3 separate regions of the Homo sapiens genome follow, and regions 1 and 3 are each linked to region 2. Evidence: promoter capture Hi-C in 16 types of primary human blood cells and fetal thymus (Javierre and others, 2016). All regions are on one chromosome and are shown on one strand. The core of a region is centred on a gene start or on the middle of the fragment in contact, and the rest is flanking DNA. Distances in the headings are between cores, read along the strand shown. Region 1 overlaps DERA (deoxyribose-phosphate aldolase). Region 2 holds the start of MGST1 (microsomal glutathione S-transferase 1). Region 3 overlaps DERA (deoxyribose-phosphate aldolase).

Region 1 (3,679 bases), core at 292-2,791, 330 kb before region 2:
TATTTCTGGCATTACTACAGTTCATTTTGAACACCTTAAGTTTTAAAAGGAAAGGGAACATCTGACTTACTGGACATACTCAAGGACTTTTGTTTCAATCAGGTGCTTGTTTCGATCAGGTGCGTCTACCAGTATTTTGAAGGGTTTGCATAATTATGCAGAATCTTCTCCTAGTCAGTAACCAAGGATTATACAGTCAGAGTCCCCACTTTGTATTCCACTTAAATCATACTGTTTTGCATTATTTTAAATGGTTGCAACTTTATTTTTATTGAGGGGAAGGCATCCGGAAGAAATGTGGTTATCATAAGATCATCTTTCCTTTGGGGCATTGGAGATATTTTCCAACCCTAAAATTGTGATTTCTTTCTGACTGCCATTATGCTTAAACAAGCATCATTGCTTAGTTATCGTGTTCTATTGCATTGCTAACGTGATGGACTGGACCGACAGAGAATTACTCTGTAGCTCACTATTCAGATTGGAAGAAAGCACTGGAAAGAGCAGGTGTTTGAATTTTTCATTTTTCTTCTTATGCTTTTCTTTCTCTCTTTCTCTTTACCCCCTTTCTCACATGGGTAGCTAATTATCCTTGGATCATGTAAGCATGTCTTTGTGGAATCACAGTCTCCAGATTTAGTATTAGTATCACATTGATACCTCCAGAGGGGCTTTCTGCTTCCATATGTACTCTGGCCAGTGCTTCAACCGTAACACTGCATCTTTATTATATTGCCCTAAGTGATTTCCAAACCTATGTTGAACAAAAGAATACAATATTGAAGACTTTTAATTTGAGGGCTTATATCTTTGCATACCCTGCTTAATTTTTTTCCAAGTGTCCCATTGCAGATTGCAAGTATAAGTTAGTGTCGGAATTACCATACGAAACTCTCTTTCTAACTTTAATCGGTAATTTCTCAGCAATAGAAAACATGATGCTAATGAATAATGTACCCAAAAGCTCTTATTATAGGGTTGGTATGAATTCCACTTAATGACAAGCTTTCTCAAGCAGCAGTTGATTTGAAATCCTACTTTTCATTAGTGAAGTATAAAATGTTAATAATACCTTCCACTGTGCTGTTCTTTTGTAGCATAGCAGCATATATCTTCCCTGTTCACCATGGACTCTTTTTAAGATCTTACTAGTAACTTCCTATAACATAAATAAGATTTGTTCAAGAAATAAAAATGTGTGTTTTCCCATTGTTAGCTATATGTTTTTCTAATAATCACATCCGAAGCTTATTATACAGTAGTAGCCTTAAGATATTATTTTTTTAAATATACTACTTTGGTCTTAATACTAGTTTTTAATCTCTTCTTGTTTCTATGAAGTCTGAATGAGATTTTCAAAATTGAATAATAATTTGATCCGTTAATCTTTTGAAGCTAGTAATTTTATTTTCCTCTCTTTGCAGTCTCTGAGGTTCGCAAATGAATAGAGCTTCATTATTGCAGTCTGCATTTAATAACAATTATCCATTATCTTGTAATTAAGACTCCCTGTAACGAATCATGAGGACAATGCAAAAATACATAGTACATTTCTTTAATGAACTGGAAAATGTTCATCTTGTTCTATTTAGTAATGAGTTGCTGAATAGTCATTAAATCCACTGGAGAATAGAGCTAGATGGATTTTGAAGACTGTCTTGAGTTTGTGGTTAATCTATTAGAATTAAAATTTCATCTTCTATTTTTATCAACAGCTGATTAGAAGTCATTCTGTTTGACCAAATTGATTAGAAGACCATATACAAGGGCAGCTGTTGTTTAATGAAAGTTTTTAATGAAACTGTACCATGGAGACTTGTAATTATAGTCCTTAGAAAAGCTTTGAGTTGCCTTAGACCACAAAAATAGTATTGTGCTAAAGATTTCAAATTAGGAAAATAAAAAATACAATTTAATATAATACTATAAATTTATTATTAATTTTAATTTCAACTAATCACAGTTGAATATTAGTCTACTTAGTGTGTTCCTTTTGACTTTTTCAGCCCTTTCATCTCTTAGTTTAGTCATTTAGTTGAAATTGTGGGCACTGATGAAAGAACATTTATAGGGATAGCTATTGTAATTTGAGATATTTTCTCATAAGATTTTTGTCCCCAAGCTGAGCAGAGGTAAGCTTGGCTAATGTTAGATTTATGTGAGCTCTGAAGAGAGTCTGTAGTGCTGTGTGGTGTTGGTAATTCAAAATGTAGCATTTATTTCTCTAAAGTAATTTCGTTTTAGCAGAAGGGCAAAGGAAGCAATGTTAAAATGAGAAGTAAAACAAAAGTGTGTCCTACTTAGTCCCATTGGAAAATCCATTTTTCTTTTGACAGCAGTAAAGTAATGATGTACTTTCTAAAATATTTTGTGTAATTAAAGCTAGGTCTTATTCCTCACTTAAAAAATAGCCAGTGTCTGCATGCCTGAACTATTTTTAATATCTTGTGGTCTCTGACTCTCAATTGTCCTTTCTCAACACATCCAATACAGACACTAAATTTAGCATCTTAAAACACTGATTTCATGTGATCAGACCTCACATTACCTAAAGAACAGAGCCCAATGTCTGTGGGTTCAAAGCTCTCTATAATATTTTCCTAAGGGATATTTACAGTCACATCTTCTAAAACATACATTCATATATCTGTGTATATGTCCCTCCTCCCACCTCACCTCCAACACAGACTTCTTAGATGTATTCTTTCATTATTTGGTATGCCATATACTTTCTTTGCTTTTGGTGTTTCTTTTTATGGTGGTGTTCTTCCATGTGTGCCCTCTCATCTTTAAATTTTGTCTCTCCTTGAAGGTCTGTAACACATTCCATCTGTTCCATGAAGCCTTCCCGTATTATTCTAGCTAAAGTTATTTCTCTGATCCTTTGTAATTCTTATTGATCATAATACTTACTGGGCATATGATATAGTTTGGATTTTTGTCCCTTCCAACTCACATGTTGAAATGTGATTCCCAGTGTTAGAGATGGGGCCTGGTGGGAGGGGATTGGATCATGGAGGTAGATCCTTCATGAATGGCTTTAGCACCATCCCTTTTGGTGATGAGTGATTTCTTGCTCTGAGCTCACATGAGATCTGGTTTTTTAAAAGAGCATGGCACCTCCCCGCATCTCACTCCCACTCTCGCCATCTGACATGCCTGCTCTCTTTGCTTTCTGCTGTGATTGTAAGCCTCCCAGGAGCCTCTCTAGGAGCAGATCCAAGCACCACACTTACTGTACAGTCTGCAGAATTGTGAGCCAATTAAACCTCTTTTCTTTATAAATTACCCAATGTATTAGTCCACAGGCTGTGCAGGAAGCATGGCTGGGGAGGCCTTAGGAAACTTTTAGTCATGGTGGAAGAGGAAGCAGGCATGTCTTAAATGGCTGGAGCAGGAAGAAGAGAGAGGAGGGGAGGTGCTACACACTTTTAAACCACCAGATCTCATATTAACTCACTATTGCGAGAACAGCACGAAAGGGGAAATCTACCCCCATGATCCAATCTCTTCCTACCAGAGACACCTGAACATTGGGGTGGGGGTTACAATTTGACATGAGATTTGGGCAGAGACACAGACCTAAACCATATCACTCAGCCTCAGATATTCCTTTGTAGCAATGCAAGAATGGACTAACACAGAAAACTGATACCAGGAGTGGTGTGTTGCTATAAAG
Region 2 (3,345 bases), core at 460-2,959:
CAATTAATAGTTTGAACACATTCTATATTTAGAGCATTAGATGAGTCAAGTGCTACTTTCTTTTTTAAAAAAATGTTAGAACCAGCTGGACGCAGTGGCTCACGCCTGTAATCCCAACACTTTGGGAGGCTGAGGCAGGTGGATCACGAGGTCAGGAGATCAAGACCATCCTGGCTAACACAGAGAAACCCCGTCTCTACTAAAAATACAAAAAATTAGCCAGGCGTGATGGCAGGTGCCTGTGATCCCAGCTACTTGGGATGCTGAGGCAGGATAACGGTGTGAACTCGGGAGGCGGAGCTTGCAGTGAGCTGAGATCGCGCCACTGCACTCCAGCCTGGGCTACACAGGCAGACTCCGTCTCAAAAAAAAAAAAAAAAAAATGTTAGAACCATTCAACTAGCATTCTGTAGACCAAATTATCTAAACAGTAGCTCTCCTCTTCCTTTTTCTGCCATGTTATCCATAAGATTTGGCCTGTATCACCTTATAATAAATGAAGAGAGTCTTAAATTCTTATAATACCAAACTCCTTTGGAGAGAATTCAGAATAGATTTATGTCATCTCAAATTCTATCCTATTCCAGTTAATGTTACAGACAGATTCTAGTATACTTTACAAAGATAGGTGAATAAGTAGAGTTTTGAAAAGATACAGACATAAAAGTGAAGAACAGATGCCTTCTGATGCTAGATTTTCCAAAACTCCTACTGTTATGCTTATATAGAAATCATTCTCAGACCTTCCTTGGATTAATTTCTGTTCCTAGAGCAAACTGGTAGTTATTTCTTTCTTTAATAGAACATGAACTTGTCCATCACATCCTAGAAAGTTAGTCCTAGGGATATCCTTTAAAGCCTAAAGGAGTAAATTAAGAGCAAAAAAAGGAAGTAGACCTTGCAACAGGTGGTGAGTGTCTGAGATATAGCACTAGGAGAGAAATAATATAGATTGAAAACAGAAATCCTTAAACATTTCTCATATAAACCCATGAAAGATAGATCCATAAATATTGTGGGGACTATGGGGACTAGGAAGCTTGGAAGTATCCCTAATCTAGATAGTGATGGTAGGCTAAATATCTACGGCTTCCGTAAACGTTCCTCTAAACCTCCCTGTAAAAAACACACTAAGCTGATTGTGTAATGAGCTGATCCAGTACAATTGCCTCCAATTTCATTCTGGACCCTGAACAGGAGGGGACATCGTGACAAAGCAAATTGTCTGGTATCATGAATTTGGAACACCGTAAGTGATCTTTACTGAGGGTTACATTCTGTCATTGTCAGCCTTTTAAGGAGGCCTTGCCACCAGCGCAGGGGAGGTGAAGTCTAAGGGAAGGTAATATTGTCAATGCCTGCTAATTAGTTCTACCCTGGAGATTTTAACTTTCTGCGAAGTTTTTAAAAACAACTTCCAAAACTCTGCTGATCCTGAAATGTTCGAGAATTCAGAGTTCCTAGACAATGGCTACTGTCCCCCTTCCCACTGATTAGGGGAGTTGGCATTTCAGGAACCAGAGTTTCTAAGGGCGCCAAATAGAAGGGCTCAAAGGGAATCAGCAGGCGATGGTTACTGTGGGCGGGTAAATCAGGTGATTTAGAGGAGGGGTTTGGCGAGGTTGGGGTCGGGCTTTAAACGTGGGAGGGCTAATTAACAGGAGATTAACTGGAGAGGGGCGGTGCCTGCGTCCGGCCCGCGCGGCCACAGTCCCTGCATTGCGCGCGACCCGGCGGCGGGACAGGCTTGCTGCTTCCTCCTCCTCGGCCTCACCGTGCGTACTGGGAGGGGAGAAGGGGACCGCATGCAAAGGGTGGCAGGCAGGGAGGGCCAGGGTGGGTGGCAGATGGAAGACTTGGGGGGGTCTCTGCCAGCTGGAAGTGCTTGGCTCCACTTAGCAGCTAAACTTAGCTTTTCAATCGATCGCTTTTGAAAGGGAATTGTATTTCTGTCCCCGTGCGGGTAAGTTTTCCCATTTCTCAAACTCCAGGAATGAAACGAGAGAGTCTTTTCATGCTTGAGTGATGATTTCCAAACTTAGCCTTTTCAAGTCAAAGTAACCTCCTGTTTGAAAGGGTCCCTTGAACTCTGGGGAAGGAGGAAAAGGCACGTGTAGTAATGGAGGAAATGCCTGTAGTTTGAACGACTGCTGTTCTCCCCAAGAGTGCAAAAGCCTGCGATGTCTCAGGTTTCATGGGCATAGTGGCCTTTATGCCTATTGTAAGGCAGGATTTGCTCTTCTGAGTTCACTTTGATAGGAGAAACATCAGCAAGTTTTAAAATAATACTAAATAATACTACTGCTAATAATGCTAGCTATCGAAACAAGAGGATGTGGGTTAGATGATAATATTTTTGTGTGATATTATAGCCAGTGACAAGAGAGCTAAGGGTGAGCCCCTTGGGACGGTTCTCACCTGTGCCCCACTTCCCCAGTCTGGAGGAGGAAGCCATGTGGAAGGAGAAAAGGAGAAGGGAACTCTCTTTTTCGGGAATTAAGGTGTCATATATTGCTCTAGCTGGCTTGGGACAGAGGAGAGAGGAGTGCATGTAAATCTTCTAGTCTCTCTGCTTCTCTTGAAATGTGGCAGTCTGAGCTCCACGTTTATATTCCCCTATTTCTTCTCCCTAATTTCTTACCCAGTGAGTGCTGAGTGGGTGCCCGCAAGCATTGCTGTATAGCACCCAGGCCTCCAGTGAGCAATCCTTAAAGCCCAGTTTTCCTGGGGTCCCAGCCTGCTGTGAGTCCCAGCCTACACCTACCTTTTGCATATGCTTTTCTTGGCCTTAGGATAGTACTGGACTTTGTTGTCCTCTGCTGTTTCCAAAATAAGAGGGCTATGTGTGCGATTATCTTTGGTAATTAAAAAAAAAAAAAAAAAAAAGGCAAATCAGTCCAAATTTGGATATTACCCTCTCTGGCAGACGAGTAAAATTTTTCTACCGCTTTGTTTTAGAGTGGTGTCTATGAATCCCTGAGATTGGAAAAGGAGGTCAGGTCAGCACAGAGAAAGGCCTTACCCCACCACTCTCCCGAGAGGCACCAGCATTTCACCTGCAGCCTCTGGGCTCTGAACCCCACTTTGCATGAGACCACATAGTGGGCTGAGTCTGCAGCCACCACGATGCCTTCAGGAAATGCTAGAATTCATCTAGAGTTCCAGATTAACGTATCCGCAACATGGCCACCGAATTATCTTTTTTCTTTATCTCATGTGTAGTGTTTGTTAGTTTTAGAAGGTACAAAATTGCAGAGTCATGGCCCTGGGGATGCGTGCCCAGATTATTCATGTGTTTCACAATATTGATGCAGAAAGGCTGGCCACCTCATCCTGAGAAGAGAA
Region 3 (3,775 bases), core at 343-2,842, 350 kb before region 2:
TTTTTGAGACGGAGTCTCGTTCTGTCGCCCAGGCTGGAGTGCAGTGGCGCGATCTCTGCTCACTGCAAGCTCTGCCTCCCGGGTTCACGCCATTCTCCTGCCTCAGCCTCCTGAATAGCTGGGACTACAGGCGCCTGCAACCACGCCTGGCTAATTTTTTGTATTTTTAGTAGAGACGGGGTTTCACCATGTTAGCCAGCATGGTCTCGATCTCCTGACCTCGCGATCCACCCACCTCGGCCTCCCAAAGTGCTGGGATTACAGGCGTGAGCCACCGCGCCTGGCCAGAAAATTCTTAAAATGGTGGGAAATTGGAATCCTTGAATGGATCCCTCAGTATATTGTACCAGGTAGATGCTTGATTATGCATATTTATTGAATGAATAAATGAAAAAAGAGTAATAAATCATGTGAAGTTGGTAGTTTATAAATTCTTTCTGCAGTAATCCCAAGAGGGAGGGAGGGAGGAGAGGTATCTTATTATCATCTTTTAGTAGATGAAAACCTGAAGCTCAGAAGTTAAGTGAATAGACCAAGGCCACACACTGAGTAAGTGGCAGAATTTTCTGAAGGACTTTTGACTCTAAACTCCATGCTTTTATTAATGCACAACCCTGCTCTCTATCCTGCAATTGATCTGTATATCAGATAATATTTATAAGCTGTGTTTAACTTTTGGAGGCACAGATGTTTCTAGAGGCCCTGAATGAGATTGTATGTTGCACTTTACTTTTCTGTTGAGGGCAAGAAAAGGAAGACATAATGGCAAGGTGTTTCTATAGAGAGGCAAGGTGTTTGCAGAAATTTATAGGAGTTGGTGAACATGAAATCAATATAAAAGAGAAAAATGACAGCAAGCCCGGGGCCACCTGCCTATGATTGGCCCACAGTAACTCCTTGTTGAAAAGAAAAGGTAGGGTGCCCAGAGCTAAAAGATCTCTTCTCAGGCTGCTTCCACTGTTATTTGTGTTTAGCTACTCTGTTGATGTCCCTGTAGTGATGCACTTAGAAAATTAACCAGGGTTGTGATACAACTGCCACTTGAGTTCTGTACTTTTCTTCCAGACTCTCTTACCTAGGGTGCCCAGAGAACAGCTAGGGAGTGACAAGAAAAGCAGATCTTTCTGTTTTCCACCTGATGGAGGAGTAGGAGAGATGTTAAAGCTGAAGGCAGTCTGAAAATGAAGGAATAGAGTAGGGAGGATGGAGGGGTATGGGAGAATGGAAGTGGTATCAGAATATTTAGAGGGAAGTCACAGCACAGGATGAGATAAATTGAACCCTTCTCATGAAGAGTGGTTGGAAAGAAAGTGGACATCTAATTAGGAGGAGGAAAATCCTTGGGGTTGTAATATTATGTTCAAATACTTGGAAGATTTTCCTGATAAAGGAAGATTTTTCTCTCTTAACTCAAAGTAGTAGGACTAGGACCAACTTTTAGACATTGTGGGAAGATGGCTTTTGAGCTAGTTATTATAGGAAGAATTTCGTCAGTGTCTGAATCACCTGGAAATTGGGTGCGCCACATCAGGAGGTAGGAGACGTTCGAGGCACAGGCTGAGTGAGCCTGATGGAGCTACACTAAGACAGACTCAGCAAACATTAGAGATGCCTTCTCTTTCAGAGTTAATGTGATTCTATGCAGAAGAGAAAATTATTTCATATGCAGACACAGACACACACACAGAGCATGTGTGTGTGTGTGTGTGTGTGTGTGTGTGTGTGTAATTTAAGAGTAGATTACAATCCAGTATACACAGGGCCCCAAAATATAGAAAACATGGGAAAAGAGGAGTGTATTAGTTTCTTGGGCTCGCTGTAACAGAGTACCGCAAATTAGATGGCCTTAAGCAACAGAAATGTGTTCTTAAGGTTCTGGAGGCCAGAAGCCCGCAGTCAGGGTGTCAGCAGGCTTATGCTCCCTCTGAAACCTGTAGGCAAGCCCTTCTTGCTTATTCTGGCTTCTGGTGTTTGCCAGCAATGCTTGACATACCTTGGCTTCACTCCAGTCTCTGCCTCTGTCACTAGATGGCTGTCTTCCCTCTGTGTGTCTCTGTCTGTGTCTCTTCTCCTCTTCTTATAAGGAAACCAGTAATGTAATGGCCCACCTTACTCAGTATGACCTTATCTTAACTAATGACATCTTCAGTGGCCCTCTTTCCAAATAAGGTCTCTTCCTGAGGTATTGAGGGGTGAGATTTTGACATCTCTTTTTTGGGGGAAACAATTCAAAGCAAAGAGAAATAGGATTCTTGCTTTATGGTCTTATTATTTTCTGTCAAGAAGACCTGAAGAAGTTAGAGAAAAATATTTTGACTCAAACCCAGCAAACTTGAATTCAGGTACAAAAGATTGATTTTTCCCTCTCAGCAATGTTGAATGGTTTTGTGGATAGGGGAAATCTAGTAGATATTAAATATTTTTATCTGCAAAAAGCATTTGGTAAGGTTCTCAATGGGAGATTAATGACTAAAATAAAGAATGAGGCATTAGGAGATAAATTTGCTTATGAGCAAGAGACAGATACTAACAGTAGAAGGAAATACTTTTTAGATTGGAAAGGAGTGACATATAGCACAAGCCAGGAATCAGTTTTGGGACCTATGGGTTTTTCACTTTATTTTTATTGGACTTTGTAATAAAAATACAGATCTTCAAACAGTCCAAGACAGAGTGAGTAATACTACAAGCATCAGTAATCAAAAGTTATTCTCTATCATAAACTAAATGACTGATAATAAATACTGACACAAGACTACACAATGTACCATAATATTATAAAATGGAGCAGGCAATTCTCTTGTGTTCTCTTTTCCTCCGCATGGGTGAATATTTCTTTATTTGCTGTTTAAAAAAAATATTTGCAGGCTTCTAGGATTACTTTATAAGCCAAATGAATGAAAAAAATGATTTTTTTTTTAATTTGGAAAGATATGTTAACAGGGAAAAATTGGTTGAAGCAAGACAAAGGTTACATTGCCATCACTAGAATAAAGAAATGAAGGGCCCTGCGTGTTACATTGCTCAGCAAGGTGTTCGGTAAAAATACTTGAGTTAGGGGGCGTTCTTGAAATCATCAGCTTATTCTGCAGTCATGACTTTAACGGAATCGTATGCAAAAGAGTCATTGTTAGAATGAGGAAACTACATATCTAAAGACAGGGAAATATAGCATGGAACTTTTTTCTCTTTTTAAATTTTAACGTGGCTCTAAAAAAATCCATAAAATCCATTGATTGTATATGTAACGTTTAGTCTGCCCAGCAGCTAGTAAATTATGTAGAGAACATACTTTTCAAATTGAACTTTTGCCTGTCACCCCTTTTGTCAAAAATCACTAAAAGGTGTTTACAAATTCATTGCCTTTTCCCCATTATTTGTACATTGTCAGATATAAGCCAAGAGAAACAGAGCAAATAAACATTCGAAAGTGAACTCAGAGAAATTGTAAATGCTTAGAAAACTATAAAGATTATAAAGTGTAAAGAAGCTCCATTAACCTCAAACCTCTCATTTTAAAGGTGAGAAAACCAAGATCCAGAAAGGTCAAATTCATAAGAAATTTGCCCGAGGACAAATAACTAAAGTCAAAACACAGAGTCTAGAACAAGGTTCTCAACCTGGGCTGCACATTAGAGTTTCCTGGCAAGCTTCTTTAATGAACTGTTGCAATGATCTTCCTACCAGAGATTGTGATTTCAGGGGTCATGAACGGAGCCAAGGAAATTCATACTTTGAGAAACATGCATTTTAAAACTTCTCCAGTTGCTTCTGC

What was found. The method cuts DNA at HindIII sites, captures the fragments that hold promoters and counts their contacts. A CHiCAGO score of 5 or more calls a contact.
Region 1: a contact is called between a fragment that was not itself captured here and the fragment with the promoter of MGST1 in region 2, in 1 of 17 cell types (M1 macrophages). The highest score is 5.3, in M1 macrophages.
Region 3: a fragment that was not itself captured here is called in contact with the fragment with the promoter of MGST1 in region 2 in 1 of 17 cell types (megakaryocytes); the score reaches 6.5 in megakaryocytes.

Annotation. Positions count from the first base shown.
Region 1 is chr12:16,016,880-16,020,558 of GRCh38, forward strand. The region is part of intron 6 of DERA (deoxyribose-phosphate aldolase); the gene reads left to right. Among named protein-coding and RNA genes, the nearest start is that of DERA, 110 kb to the left of the region's middle. RefSeq lists an enhancer at 777-2,011. The HindIII fragment of the contact is 593 bases long and covers 1,246-1,838 here.
Region 2 is chr12:16,345,936-16,349,280 of GRCh38, forward strand. It overlaps MGST1 (microsomal glutathione S-transferase 1), which reads left to right and starts at 1,710. Exons shown (of 4, transcript NM_020300.5): 1 at 1,710-1,775. RefSeq lists enhancers at 800-1,729, 2,660-3,345. The HindIII fragment of the contact is 2,670 bases long and covers 1,038-3,345 here.
Region 3 is chr12:15,994,467-15,998,241 of GRCh38, forward strand. The region is part of intron 6 of DERA (deoxyribose-phosphate aldolase); the gene reads left to right. Among named protein-coding and RNA genes, the nearest start is that of DERA, 85 kb to the left of the region's middle. The HindIII fragment of the contact is 4,111 bases long and covers 1-3,648 here.